Regions from separate parts of the Homo sapiens genome. Here region 2 is linked to region 1. Evidence: promoter capture Hi-C in human tissues and cell types (Jung and others, 2019). All regions are on one chromosome and are shown on one strand. Each heading gives the region's core, a stretch centred on a gene start or on the middle of the fragment in contact. The rest is flanking DNA. Distances are from core to core; before and after follow the strand shown. Region 1 holds the start of USP2 (ubiquitin specific peptidase 2). Region 2 overlaps NECTIN1 (nectin cell adhesion molecule 1).

Evidence for each region. The method cuts DNA at HindIII sites, captures the fragments that hold promoters and counts their contacts. A contact is called where the count stands out against the background at its distance.
Region 2: a fragment that was not itself captured here is called in contact with the fragment with the promoter of USP2 in region 1 in 1 of the 25 tissues and cell types used here (dorsolateral prefrontal cortex).

What each region holds. Positions count from the first base shown.
Region 1 is chr11:119,378,217-119,384,008 of GRCh38, forward strand. USP2 (ubiquitin specific peptidase 2) reads right to left here and starts at 3,474. Exons shown (of 13, transcript NM_004205.5): 1 at 3,257-3,474. USP2-AS1 (USP2 antisense RNA 1) reads left to right here and starts at 3,562. Exons shown (of 4, transcript NR_034160.1): 1 at 3,562-3,692. RefSeq lists an enhancer at 2,552-3,541. The HindIII fragment of the contact is 18,363 bases long and covers 1-5,792 here.
Region 2 is chr11:119,713,374-119,719,165 of GRCh38, forward strand. All of the region lies in intron 1 of NECTIN1 (nectin cell adhesion molecule 1), which reads right to left. It overlaps NECTIN1-AS1 (NECTIN1 antisense RNA 1), which reads left to right. Exons shown (of 3, transcript NR_183634.1): 3 at 226-552. Among named protein-coding and RNA genes, the nearest start is that of NECTIN1-AS1, 6.4 kb to the left of the region's middle. RefSeq lists enhancers at 874-1,514, 4,556-5,329. The HindIII fragment of the contact is 5,265 bases long and covers 875-5,792 here.

The sequences.
Region 1 (5,792 bases), core at 2,224-4,723:
CCCAGCTGCTTGGGTCACCTGCTGCACTATCTGGGCACAAGTGTCTGGTCCTGGAGGATGGGATGAGGGAATCCTGGCAGGTGTAGAGGACATGGGTAGAGTAGGGGATGGGGGGGCGGGGGCATATTTATGCTCAAACAGTCCTTGAACTCCGCCTACTCCTCTCAGGCCCCAGGGCCTGGGCTGGCCTCCTCCCCTCCAGCCTGTCACTAGGCTTTGTCTATCAGGGGCTAGCACCCGCTGATCCACCAGCCTAATCCTCTTGCCTCCCCTGGCAGGGGGTCATCCAAGGGAATTTGGGTCCATTTCTCTTTCTTGTGCTCCCAGTAGTTACCCAAGAGCTGGGGGAGGGGAGGAGGTAAGATAAAGAGACTGGAGATTAAGGCAAGAATCCTGACTGGTGGAGAAGAAGTGGATGGGCCCAGGGCAGTTTCTATAGGGTGCTCCTTGATTTGGGGTTGTGAGTGGGTGGGCATCTATACACTTCCAAGACAAGGCAAAGAAATGGGCCTCCAGGTAGTATTGGGATCCTTAAATTCTCTTTTCCAAGCACCTCTGCCCAGGTACTCTCCTGGTGCCCCCTCCCAAGGGGAGAGCCCCGGTCTCCTTCCTTCTCCTCTAGGGCGTCATCTTTCCTCTGTTCTCAGCCTCCGGAGGAGCCTTTGGTCTTGCCCCTGACACCCACCGGGCCCAATGGGGTGGCCTCTCACATGCTCTCCCAGATTCACTGATGTCTTTCCTCTAGGTAGAGTCCCAGAGAAGCTCAGATACCAAAGGGGCAGCTACTGACCTGTGTCCAGGGGCACTGGATGGGAGCTGGGGGCTTCTCCTTCCCCAGCAGGGCAGGGAATGCAGTGGAAAGCCCAGAAGCTGGAGCCTGACTCTGGGCTGGGTAATCCGGAGCTCAGGTTACTGACTCCGATATATATAGTATCTTATCTGACCTCGCAGACTCGCAGAGATGGCGAGTGCAACTCACTTGCATTCCAAGCCCCAGGAGAATTAAAGGGGCAGTGGCGTGCTCACCTTGAGGGGCTGCCCTTTCGGGCCAGTGCCAGCCAAGGAGGTCTGTGAGGACTCTTGGAAGGGGGGCATTTTGAAGGGGAACAATCGGGAGATTCAAGAGGAAAGAGCATTGAAAAGAGCACAGAGGGGTGGGGGTGGAACTTGAGACAAAAATATGGAGAAAGTGGATTTTCCAGAGCAGTCAGTCACAGAATTAGAGAACAGGAAGAAGCCATACAGTTAGCCCCACTCTTAATTTTGAGATAGAGTAGACCTAGAGAAAGAAAGCAGCTTGCTCAAGGGCATGTGCAGATAGCGAGAAGCAGAAAGGGGACTAGTACTCAGGTTTCAGTCCAATATTCTTTTCTAATGGACTTCTAGGCCTGGGATTGGAGGCTAGTTCTTTCCCTTATTGGCTCTGAAATAGTGGATAAGTCACTTAAGTTCTCTGAACCTTAGCTATTTAATCTGCAAAACGGGACTAATAGTAATAATAGTGGTCTATCTCAGTTGTGAGGATTAAATAAAATAATATTTGTAAATTTCATGGCCCATAGAGTTCAATAAACATTGATGATTATATTGAATACTTCCACTTCTTATTATAATTAGTGGTATTATTAATAATAGCGCCTTACCAGGTGAACCTTCCTAGGGAGAAAAGGAGGGTTACTCCTGGGGAAGTGTTCCTTTCTCTTTTTTTTTTTTTTTTTTTGAGACGGAGTCTCCGTCGCCCAGGCTGCAGTGCAGTGGCGCGATCTTGGCTCACTGCAAGCTCCGCATCCTGGGTTCACGCCATTCTCCTGCCTCAGCCTCCCGAGTAGCTGGGACTACAGGCTCCCGCCAGCACGCCCGGCTAATTTTTTTGTAATTTTAGTAGAGATGGGGTTTCACCGTGTTAGCCAGGATGGTCTCGATTTCCTGACCTTGTGATCCGCCCGCCTTGGCCTCCCAAAGTGCTGGGATTACTGCACTTTGAGCCACTGCTCCCGGCCGGAAGTGTGCCTTTCTAATGCCAGAGAACAGTCCCTTGGTTTTCTGAACTGACCATGTCCCATAACTGGGAAGGGCAAACAAGGCTTGCCATCTTCCTAGACGTCCAGTCCACCAAGCAGAGAAAGGCCAAGCCCATCTGGGCTCCTTCCCCCTTTGCCTAGAAAAATACGGCAAGTGCAGCTTCCCCCAGGCCACCAGGAGAATGCTTGGCCCCTCTGGGGTGGTTCCACTCTACCTGTGGGAGGGCTCAGGATTCCAGGGCCACAGAGCCGGGCTGGGCAGGGTCACAAGAGGAAGGAACGGGGTTCTTAGCCTCTCTGGCCTTGGTGCACTTGTCTGCTCCCAGGACGTTTCTCGATGGCTCTCCCCGAGGACTGGGAGTACCCAGCCTGGTGCCTCCACCCTGTCTTAGCACAGGCTACTGACTCAGCCCAGGTCCTAATGATGCACTTCAGAGGACGCCCTCATTCCAGTCCTCATTCTGACTCCAGTCTGACATGCATCTACAGCATCAAAGGAGGGGGCCTGCCTCGACCTTAGCCCAATCAGCTCTCCTTTCCTCTGCTTTACGGGGGTCCATCTGGGGGATGTTCTCATGCCCATTCCAGGGGAGGTGAGCAGCCCCTACCACTACCTCCAGCTCAGTCCCATTCTAAAGGCAGCCAGGTCAGGAGGTAGGATGTTCACTCTTCAGGGAAGGGCTAGAATGGGTTGGCTAGGGCTTCCCTTGACTGTTGAGAAGTTGCTCTCTCCGGAGCACCGCGTGCCTGCTTCTGGTTTGGGACTGGTGAGAATTTCAAAGCTGCCTCTTTCTGGTTTGGGATTGGTGGAAAATCTCCCCTTCCGCTTAATTGTTGCCCAACCCCCGCCCCTAACCCCCTTTAGCAAACTGACCGGGGAGCTTTAAGAGCAGCGAGTGAGCTGCACGCACACGTGGGGAGGGGGTTTGTCAGTGTCGCTCAGGCCACATACCACCGATATACACGGGGCACAGCGAGGAGGACCCGCCAAAGCAGCATTTCCTTAGAATACACTGATCAGCACACAGTTGGCTCTTCCTGGCACCCTGGGCTGTCAGCAGGCAGCCCTCACACAACTGGCAGACACAGCTGGAGCGTCCCTGCACAGCCGGCTCTCTCCCTATATTTCTAGTGTCCACTCTGCCCAGAATGTCGTGGACACCTTACTTTCTGAGCTCCAAACCGGCACTGATCCCCGAATCCCCCCTCCCGGATCCCCGACAGGTGGCACGTACCTGCCTCTTCTTGGAGTATGGACGAGTCGAACCGGGCACAAGCATGGAGCTGCGGGTGAGTCCCGGCTGGCGCTGGCGCGGCGCAGTGAGCACCAGCTGACGAAGAGGGCTCCCCGGCCTCGGCTCCTGCCTGACTCTCTCCCACCTCCGCCGGGGGCCCAGAAGGGACCTCCCCGGGAAATCGGCGCCACCCAGCGGGCAGCCGCCTCATCGCGCCTGGGCCGGCAGAGCCACACCCCGCGTCTCGCGTCACTGAGTCGCGTCACGGCTATTGGCTTGTTCCTACTGTGGCGTCATTAGAGCCCGGCCTCCGGCTGGGGCCACCCAGGCAACCGATATACACAGAGAACCACGTGGAGGAAAAGCACGCGAGTTTGGAGCGGGTGGAGCAGGAACAGAGGTGGACTGGAATGTCACACGACGGGGCAGCTGGAAGGTATTGGGAAAGAAGAGGCGTCATGGGAGAAGGCTCGGAACTTGAGCCCTGGGGCGTATCAACTTTCAGTTTTTAGGGAAGGCTAAACGTCCCCCACTCCCCTTCTCACTGGGCTGGGGGAGGTCCTGTTCCTCAGCCTCTTCTCTTTTTCTCTGCTGTCAAAGACACTCTCCGCTCATTTTACTTTCATGGGACCAGTGATTAGTGATGAATGCCTGAGTGGGTAAACGGAGGCACTGAGTCAATGAAAGAATTCTCTTTGGTCTTTTCAAGAAAAAGCCGAGACAAAACTTGAATTTTTGCTGCTCCCATTCCTTTTATGTAACCTTCTCCCGACTCCCCCGATGTTGATGAGGAAAATCGCACAACCAGGTAGCTGGGTACCAAGGCGAATCCAGGTTTTCAACTTCAGCTGCTCCATCAACCCTTGCAGCTGCCGTTAACTCCTCCCATCTTCACCATAGATCTCTCTCTCCATCGCTACTCTCCTCAAGTCCTTCCTTCTCTTCTATTTCCCAGAGAAATCAGACGCAATCAAGAGGGGAATTCTTAAATTTCTACCTACAAACATGTCTGAATCCATTCTTATCAGGAGCAGTGAAAGAGGCACCCCTGTTCTTGTCCAAGGCACGATTCCCTTCTTGATTTCAACTCTTGTTTTGTTTTTGTTTTTGTTTTTTGTTTTTTTGAGACGGAGTGTCGTCGCTCTTGTTGCCAAGGCTGGAGTGCAATGGCGCGATCTCAGCTCACTGCAACCTCCAGGTTCAAGCAATTCTGCCTCAGCCTCCCAAGTAGCTGGGATTACAGGCGTGCGCCACCACGCCAGGCCGATTTTTTTTTTATAGAGTCTTGCTCTGTTGTCCAGGCTGGAGTGCAATGGCATAATCTCGGCTCACTGCAACCTCCTCCTCCCGGGTTCAAGTGATTCTTGTGCCTCAGCCTCCCCCGAGTAGCTGGGATTACAGGAGCCCACCACCACGCCTGGCTAATTTTTGAATTTTTAGTAGAGACAGGGTTTCACCGTGTTGGTCAGGCTGGTCTTGAACTCCTGACCTCAGGTGATCCACCAGCCTCAGACCCCCAAAGTGCTGGGATTACAGGTGTGAGCCACTGCACCCGGCCCCAGCTAATTTTTTGTATTTAGTAGAGATGGGGTTTCACCATGTTATATTTCCTTAGGGCCCTCATTCCATCACTTCATTTTACAGATGGATATTGGACATGCCAGTCACTCTTCTAGAAACTGGGGATATAGCAGGGAACAAAACAGGCACAATCCCTGCCCTCAGGGAGCTTACATTCTAGTAGAAGCAGGACTAAATAAGTAGAATATGTAATATGTTAGATGATGCTAAGAGCTATGGGGCACATCAAGCAAGGAGGAGGTGCGTTCGGAGAAGGTAACATTCAAGTGACCTGAGGGAGGCTAGGCGTGAACTACACATAAATGTGGGGAAAGAATGTTCTAGGCAGAGAGAAGAGTAAAAGTAAAGGTCCTGAGGTGGGAGCGACCTGCCACTTTCGAGGAAGAACAAAGTCAATGTGGCTGGAGTGAAGAGAGAGAAAGATAGGGAAAGAGTGGGAGACGCGATCAGAGAGGTCAGAGAAGGACCCAGCCTGTAGGTCCCCAAGGCCATTCTGAGGACTTTGGCTTTTATGAAGCTACTGGAAGGTTTTGAAACAGGGTTGTCCAATCTTTTGGCTTCCCTGGGTTATGGTAGAAGAAGAATTATTGTTTTGGGCCACACATAAAATACACTAACACTAAAGATAGCTGATGAGCTTTAAAAAAAACTCATAATGTTTTAAGAAAGTTTACGAATTTGTGTGGGGCCACATTCAAAGCCATCCTGGGCCACATGTGGCCTGCATACTGTGGGTTGGACAAGTTTGTTTTGAGCAGAGGAGGGACACGGATCTGATTTTTGTTTTAACAAAATACCTTTTGCTACTGTGTAGAGAACAGCTCTGAAGAGAGCAGAAGCGGGAGACCATTTAGGAGGTCATTGTGAGCGTCTGGTTAGTGTGGTAGCAGGACAGGTGATGCAAAGTGGTGGATTTTGGAAGTATTTTGAATGTGGACTAACAGGATTTTCTGAT
Region 2 (5,792 bases), core at 2,257-4,756, 340 kb after region 1:
AAATTAGGAAGAAAAAACCATCCATGATTTATTAACCAGAGTCACTAATTATTAACCAGTTTGACTCCTGGACTTGAGGCCCCAATTCCTGGCCTCCCCTAGCTTCCAGAGTGTTGAGCTCCCCCAACGTGCCCCGTCTCCCCCCTTCCCCTGCCCCCTCCCCACCCTTACCCCAGACTGTGACTGTCTCTGCCCAGCCTTGCCCTTATCTCCTCTTATCTCCAGGTGCTCTGGTGGCTGCTACTGAACACCAACCGCTACTCTCAGCCTTGGGGGTGACAGGAAAGAATGGGACCGCAGTGATTGAAACTTATTTGGGGCAGGAAGCTTGGCCTGGATGACCTGAGGGGCAGTCATGTCCTCTGGCCCACCCAGTCTTCACTTCTCACCTCCTCACCCCCCGCCCTCTGGAGGGCAGCTCCTATCTCTCCTGGGTTAGCCTCAGAGTTCGGCGAGGGGAGGCACTGTTTGGGGCTACAGTCCTGGGCCCGGCGTTGCTTGCCAGTGAGATGTCTGATGCCAGGGGGGTGCCAAGGAGCAGCAAGCCTGGGGACTTGGGGAGAAACTCTAAACAGAGTCTCCTGGGCTTTGGGGGCAAGGGATGCTGCAGACCCTGAGTGGCCCCCCCCTTGGTATTCAGGACAGAGGCTTCTGAGTTGCTCTGAGGGTACATCGAAGCTCAGATTCTCCAGGGGTAAGAGATTCTTTCAGCCATTGCTGCAGGAACCCCAACTCAGTCAGTCCCACCAAAGAAGCAAAGAGGCAGGAGCGGCAGCCTCTGGGTGGGCCCCTATTGAGGGGCAGCCAGGGCCTGCCTGGGGGTTGTGTTAGAGCCTGGATGGCACTCATGAGCCACCTGTGGGGTGGTGGCCCCTGGACTTCCAACTGCAGAATGTGCCTCTGTATCCCAATGCCAAAAGCGGGGTGCCTCACCCTGACACATGCTGTGGCTCGCCCTCCCAGGGCCATGACATGCCACAGAGCCACTGCACCATGGCACGAAGCAGCAACAGGTGACACGGGAGGCTGCCAGGTCACCCCACCTGCAGGATCCCTGTGATGTACCTCCTTCCACGAGTCACCACACCCATCCCCAAGCAGCCCCACATCCATCCCCCATGGCGGTGCAGGCAGGTGGGGAGCACAGCCCAGCCCACCGCAGGGTGAACTGATGCAGGCAGAGGGGAATGCTCCACATCCCCGCTGTCCCCTGCCCTGTCCTGTCCTGCCCACGGTCCCTCTGCATCCTGACCCTCTGCAGTATGCTCCCTCTCCCTGTCCCCTCTCTCCCCATCGCCAACTTAATTCCTTAATTCCTACTGGAGATAAGCGGATCTTTCACTGAAATTTATCATTAATCCTAAGGAAAACAGGGGTGGGAAGGGGGTGGGGGTGGGAAAGGGATAGAGGGAGGTGGGGAAGCTTGGAGGGCCCACCCACACTGCCTCCTCCTAGATCTGGGACAGCTGTGGTGGCTGGGAATCCTAGGCTGACATCCCTGGGCGTGGCAGCCCACATATGGAGCTGTTACTGGGGATCTGAGGGGAGCACCTGAGATGGTGAGGTGTGTGAGACTCAGGAGAGGTGAGACGGGGGCCGAGGCTGTCTGTAAATGCCTGCAGGATCACATGAGCTCCATGCGATTCCAACACTAATGGGAGGGAGCTTCAGGGGGAAGGGGGAGCTGGGGGCAGTCAGGGCTGTCCTGGCTTCCATGGAGGGTGGTGAGTACCCTGTCAGTGGAGGGATTCAGCTGCAGCTGGAGGATGACCAACAGGCCAGAATGTGGTTAGGGGTTTTAGGAAGTGAATGGGGTGCTACAGCATTTGATTTCCCTTCCAATGCTAAGACTCCAGGATTCTCTGACATCCTCTCCACCTTCCCCTGCAGGGCAGGGAGGTACCTTCAGCTGCAGGCCCAGCTGGGAGGCTCTTTCCAGACCTGGGTCTGGGAGAGGAACAAGTGGGCTCAGGTTAGTTTTTTATTTTTATTTTTTTTTAAGATGGAGTTTCACTCTTGTTGCCCAGGCTGGGGTGCAATGGTGTGATCTCGGCTCAGTGCAACCTCCGCCTCCTGGGTTCAAGTGATTCTCCTGCCTCAGCCTCCTGAGTAGCTGGGATTACAGGTGCCCATAACCATGCCTGGCTAATTTTTGTATTTTTAGTAGAGACAGGGTTTCACCATGTTGGCCAGGCTGGTCTCGAACTCCTGACCTCAGGTTATCTACCCGCCTCGGCCTCCCAAAGTGCTAGGACTATAGGTATGAGCCACTGTGCCCAGTGGGCTCAGGTGTTTAACACATCTTGGCAGAATGAAGGAGAATGCAGGCCCCTGCCTAGTGTCACTGTCCCTTCACGTCCAAACAGGATGGCTTAAAGAGACTGAGGCCTGACCCACAAGGCCCTAGCTCCATCTCTCCACCATCCACCCAGGCCTCAACCCGACTAGCATTCCTGCTTGAAAGAGCTGACACCCTCAGGGATCACCTGCTGTGTGTGAGGTCAGAGGTCAGAGCGTGGATGCCATGCAGTGCTGGACTGGATATTATGTTTGTTGCTGTCTACAGCTCCCACCTCTGTGCCTGGCACATGTCGAGTGAATGCCAGGATGAACCTGTCTGCCTCTCCCACAACACATCCAGGGCAGTGGGATTCCTACAGGGACTGGCACTGGGCGCTTGGGGCAGCCAGAATTCTGCACCTTGAGTGAAACCCTTGCTTTCCTTTCAGAAGGGAGCACAGGAGGCACCTGCCCAGGTGATCATCTGGGTTGGGGGGGCGGATCTCCAGTAGCCCAGGGGCCTGAGACTAAGACATACTCTGCTTGCATTGACCACCCTGGAGAAGTCACAGGAGCCCAGCAGAGGGGCTCCCCACAGCGTTCTGGGGCACACACAGCCAGGAGGGTTCCTGGGCCTGGCTTCCCCAGCCCCAGGGAACGGACCCTCCTTCTCCAGACTGGGAGTCCCTCCCAGTGGTAGCTCACAACAGTCCAGCGGTGCGAAGGCTTTCCCTGGATCAAGCAAATTATTGCTTGTGCTAAGCACACCACATATGTTATTCGCCCCTTCCAGCCTCTTATCATCTCATCCCATTGTACAGCTAGGGGAACTTGTTTAGAGAAGACACAGATACACCCGCTGACACAGGTAAGTCATAAAAGACTGAGATCATTTGACTCCAAAATAACCACTGGGTTCAGTCAATTTCTTGGGGAAAAATAGTCAAACTAGTTGTTTGTGACCCTGTAGACAAAACAATGATCTAAGACTGACCTTCGCCGGTTCTCTAACTGGCGGCTGGGGGGCAGTGTAGACCTTGCCCGGACAGTCATCATCTTTGATTGGCTCCCCCTCCTTCTCCACCCACCCTTAGTAGCCAGGCTGTGCCCCCAACCCCAGGAGGGGGGTGAGGGCCCCCTACCTGTGTGTGGGAGAAGATGGCGATCAGAGTCTAATCAGAAGCAGGCGCGTGCACACGCGCGCGCACGCACGCACGCACACACACACAGCACGTGACCTCATACACGCACACACACCATAAACCTTCCTCATACACACACAGAGGACATAAAAACACTTGTAAAGAAACACATAAACCAGCACAGATTATCATTACAGCGCAAACTGTGTACACAAGTGCCGAGGGGCTAGCAGTAATGGAGTGATGGGAGATGAGAGAGGGTAATGGGGATATTTCCTGGGAAGGGTGTTTGTGAGCAGAGCTTGGGGAGGAGGCCAGAAAGACTCTGCAGCAGCACTGAGAGGTGGGCGCCGAGGACTGATGCTCTCTCCCTCTTCCATCATCACCGCCCCTTCAGGACTGGCCACGAGGCCCATCATCTGACCCCTGGGAGGGTGGGGAACGGTGCTGTGGTCAGGGCAGAGGCAGGCCGGGAGCAGGGGGCTGTCGCACACGTTCCCCCAAAGGCCTATCCATCACGCCAGTGGAGACCATCAGAGTGCTCTGCCGGCCCAGGACACTGATGACTCTCCAGGCACCATAAAGACAGGGAATAAATCTGGGAAGTTGCTGGGTAGGAGGGTGCCTCAACGGCAGGGCTGGCCACCCTGCCCGGGAAGGGAGAGGCAGCCCCTCCATCATTCTGAGAGATGCAGCAATCTAGGCCAATGAGATTGGGACAGTTCAGGGGGTGGGGGAGGTGGGCAATCACGATAAAATAATCCAGTGCAGTGTGGCTGCTCCGCTCCAGTGTTATTTACAGTGTTATTTACACTCAGGGAGATGCCTGTCCCTGCCTCCGCTCCAATTTATGCCTAGGAGTTGCTGCAGAAAGCCTCTGCCACTGATTCAAAACCCTCAAAGGGGCCCGGTCCCAGAGGGCAGAGGAGAGGGACATAAAAGTGGCTAAGCTTGGGAGCCCGGCAGGCACCTGCAGGCCCGGGGGTAGGGGGGCTCTGGGCAATGCTGGTCCCTTCGTGCTGGCTGGGCAATGCTCCGGCTTGGATGGGAGTCAGGCAGGTCCTATGCCCTCCTTCCTCCTGTTGCTTCCAAGCACTTCCTAGGTGCAGGGCAGATCCAGCCCCAGGAGCTGATCACATAGCTCTGGCTTGTGTCTGGGCCACAGAGGCCGCGCGGTAATTCAAGCTAACGGAGCATGGATAATCTAGAACAGCGGAGGGTCTAGGAGGAATTTCGCTTTGGCGTCGACACAGATCAGATGACTGTTTTGCAGCCGAATTACCTTCCTAATTAAGCAAGAGAGTCTGTGAGGCCTGAGCCTGCATGGTGACCTGCAGGGTCAGGGTGTGCTGGGAGGAGCATCACCCTGGGTGACCCTCGAGAGGACAATCTGCACAGGGACTGTCTGAAGTCAACTCCCAGTCCTCAGCCACAACCCTGGGGAAGGGCTTTGATTTTTCTGCCCCCGTGATCTTCTTCCCTGGGATAGTTCTCTGCCCTCGCCTATGAAGCTGAGGACGCCTGGACCCAGGATCAATGCCTCTCTCCCCAGCTTGCTGTCCTGATCCTGCCTGGGGCAGAGGAAGCACCAGCCCTTTCATCCCAGGAGATCAAAGCAGCCGGCCCAGGAGAACACCCTAAATCCTTTTCCCCATCCACACTCCCTAGTAGGGGCCCTCCCTTGCCATCTTTTGGGATCTCTGGGTGAGGGCAAGAGGGCCTGAAACCTTCCAGAAGTTTAGAACAGGCTCTGGCATAGGATCAGCTTGCTGAGCCCTGGATCCACCCAGGATCTGGGGCTGGCCTGGGAACACGCGCTGGGGGACCAGGCAGATTCTCTCCGAGGAGCTACTATACCTGCCTCTGGTCTCACCGTGAGACATGGTGTGTGTGAGGGGGCCCAAATGGTATCAGTGATGCCCAAAGACTCAGGAGATGCAATAGTGATAACTTCAAGACATTCCACTCTGGCACAGCCACATGAATACTCCCAAGACACAACAGTGTCTGTGGCAGGATATACCAGTAATACAGGTTGAATATCCCTTATCCCTAATGCTTGAGACCCAAAGTGTTTCAGACTTCAAATTTGTTCAGATTTTGTAATATCTGTATACATGAAATGTTATCTTGGGGATGGGACCCAAGTCTAAACATGAAATTTCATTTCTATTTCATATACACCTTATACACATAGGCTGAAGGTAATTTTATACAGTGGCTTTAATAATTCTGTGGATGAAATAATGTTTTGACTGCCTTTGGATTGCGACCCTTCAGGAGGATAAGTGTGGAATTTTCCACTTGTGGCGTCATGTCGGCCTCCAAAAGCTTCGGATTTTGGATTAGGGATGTTCAACCTGCGCCAAG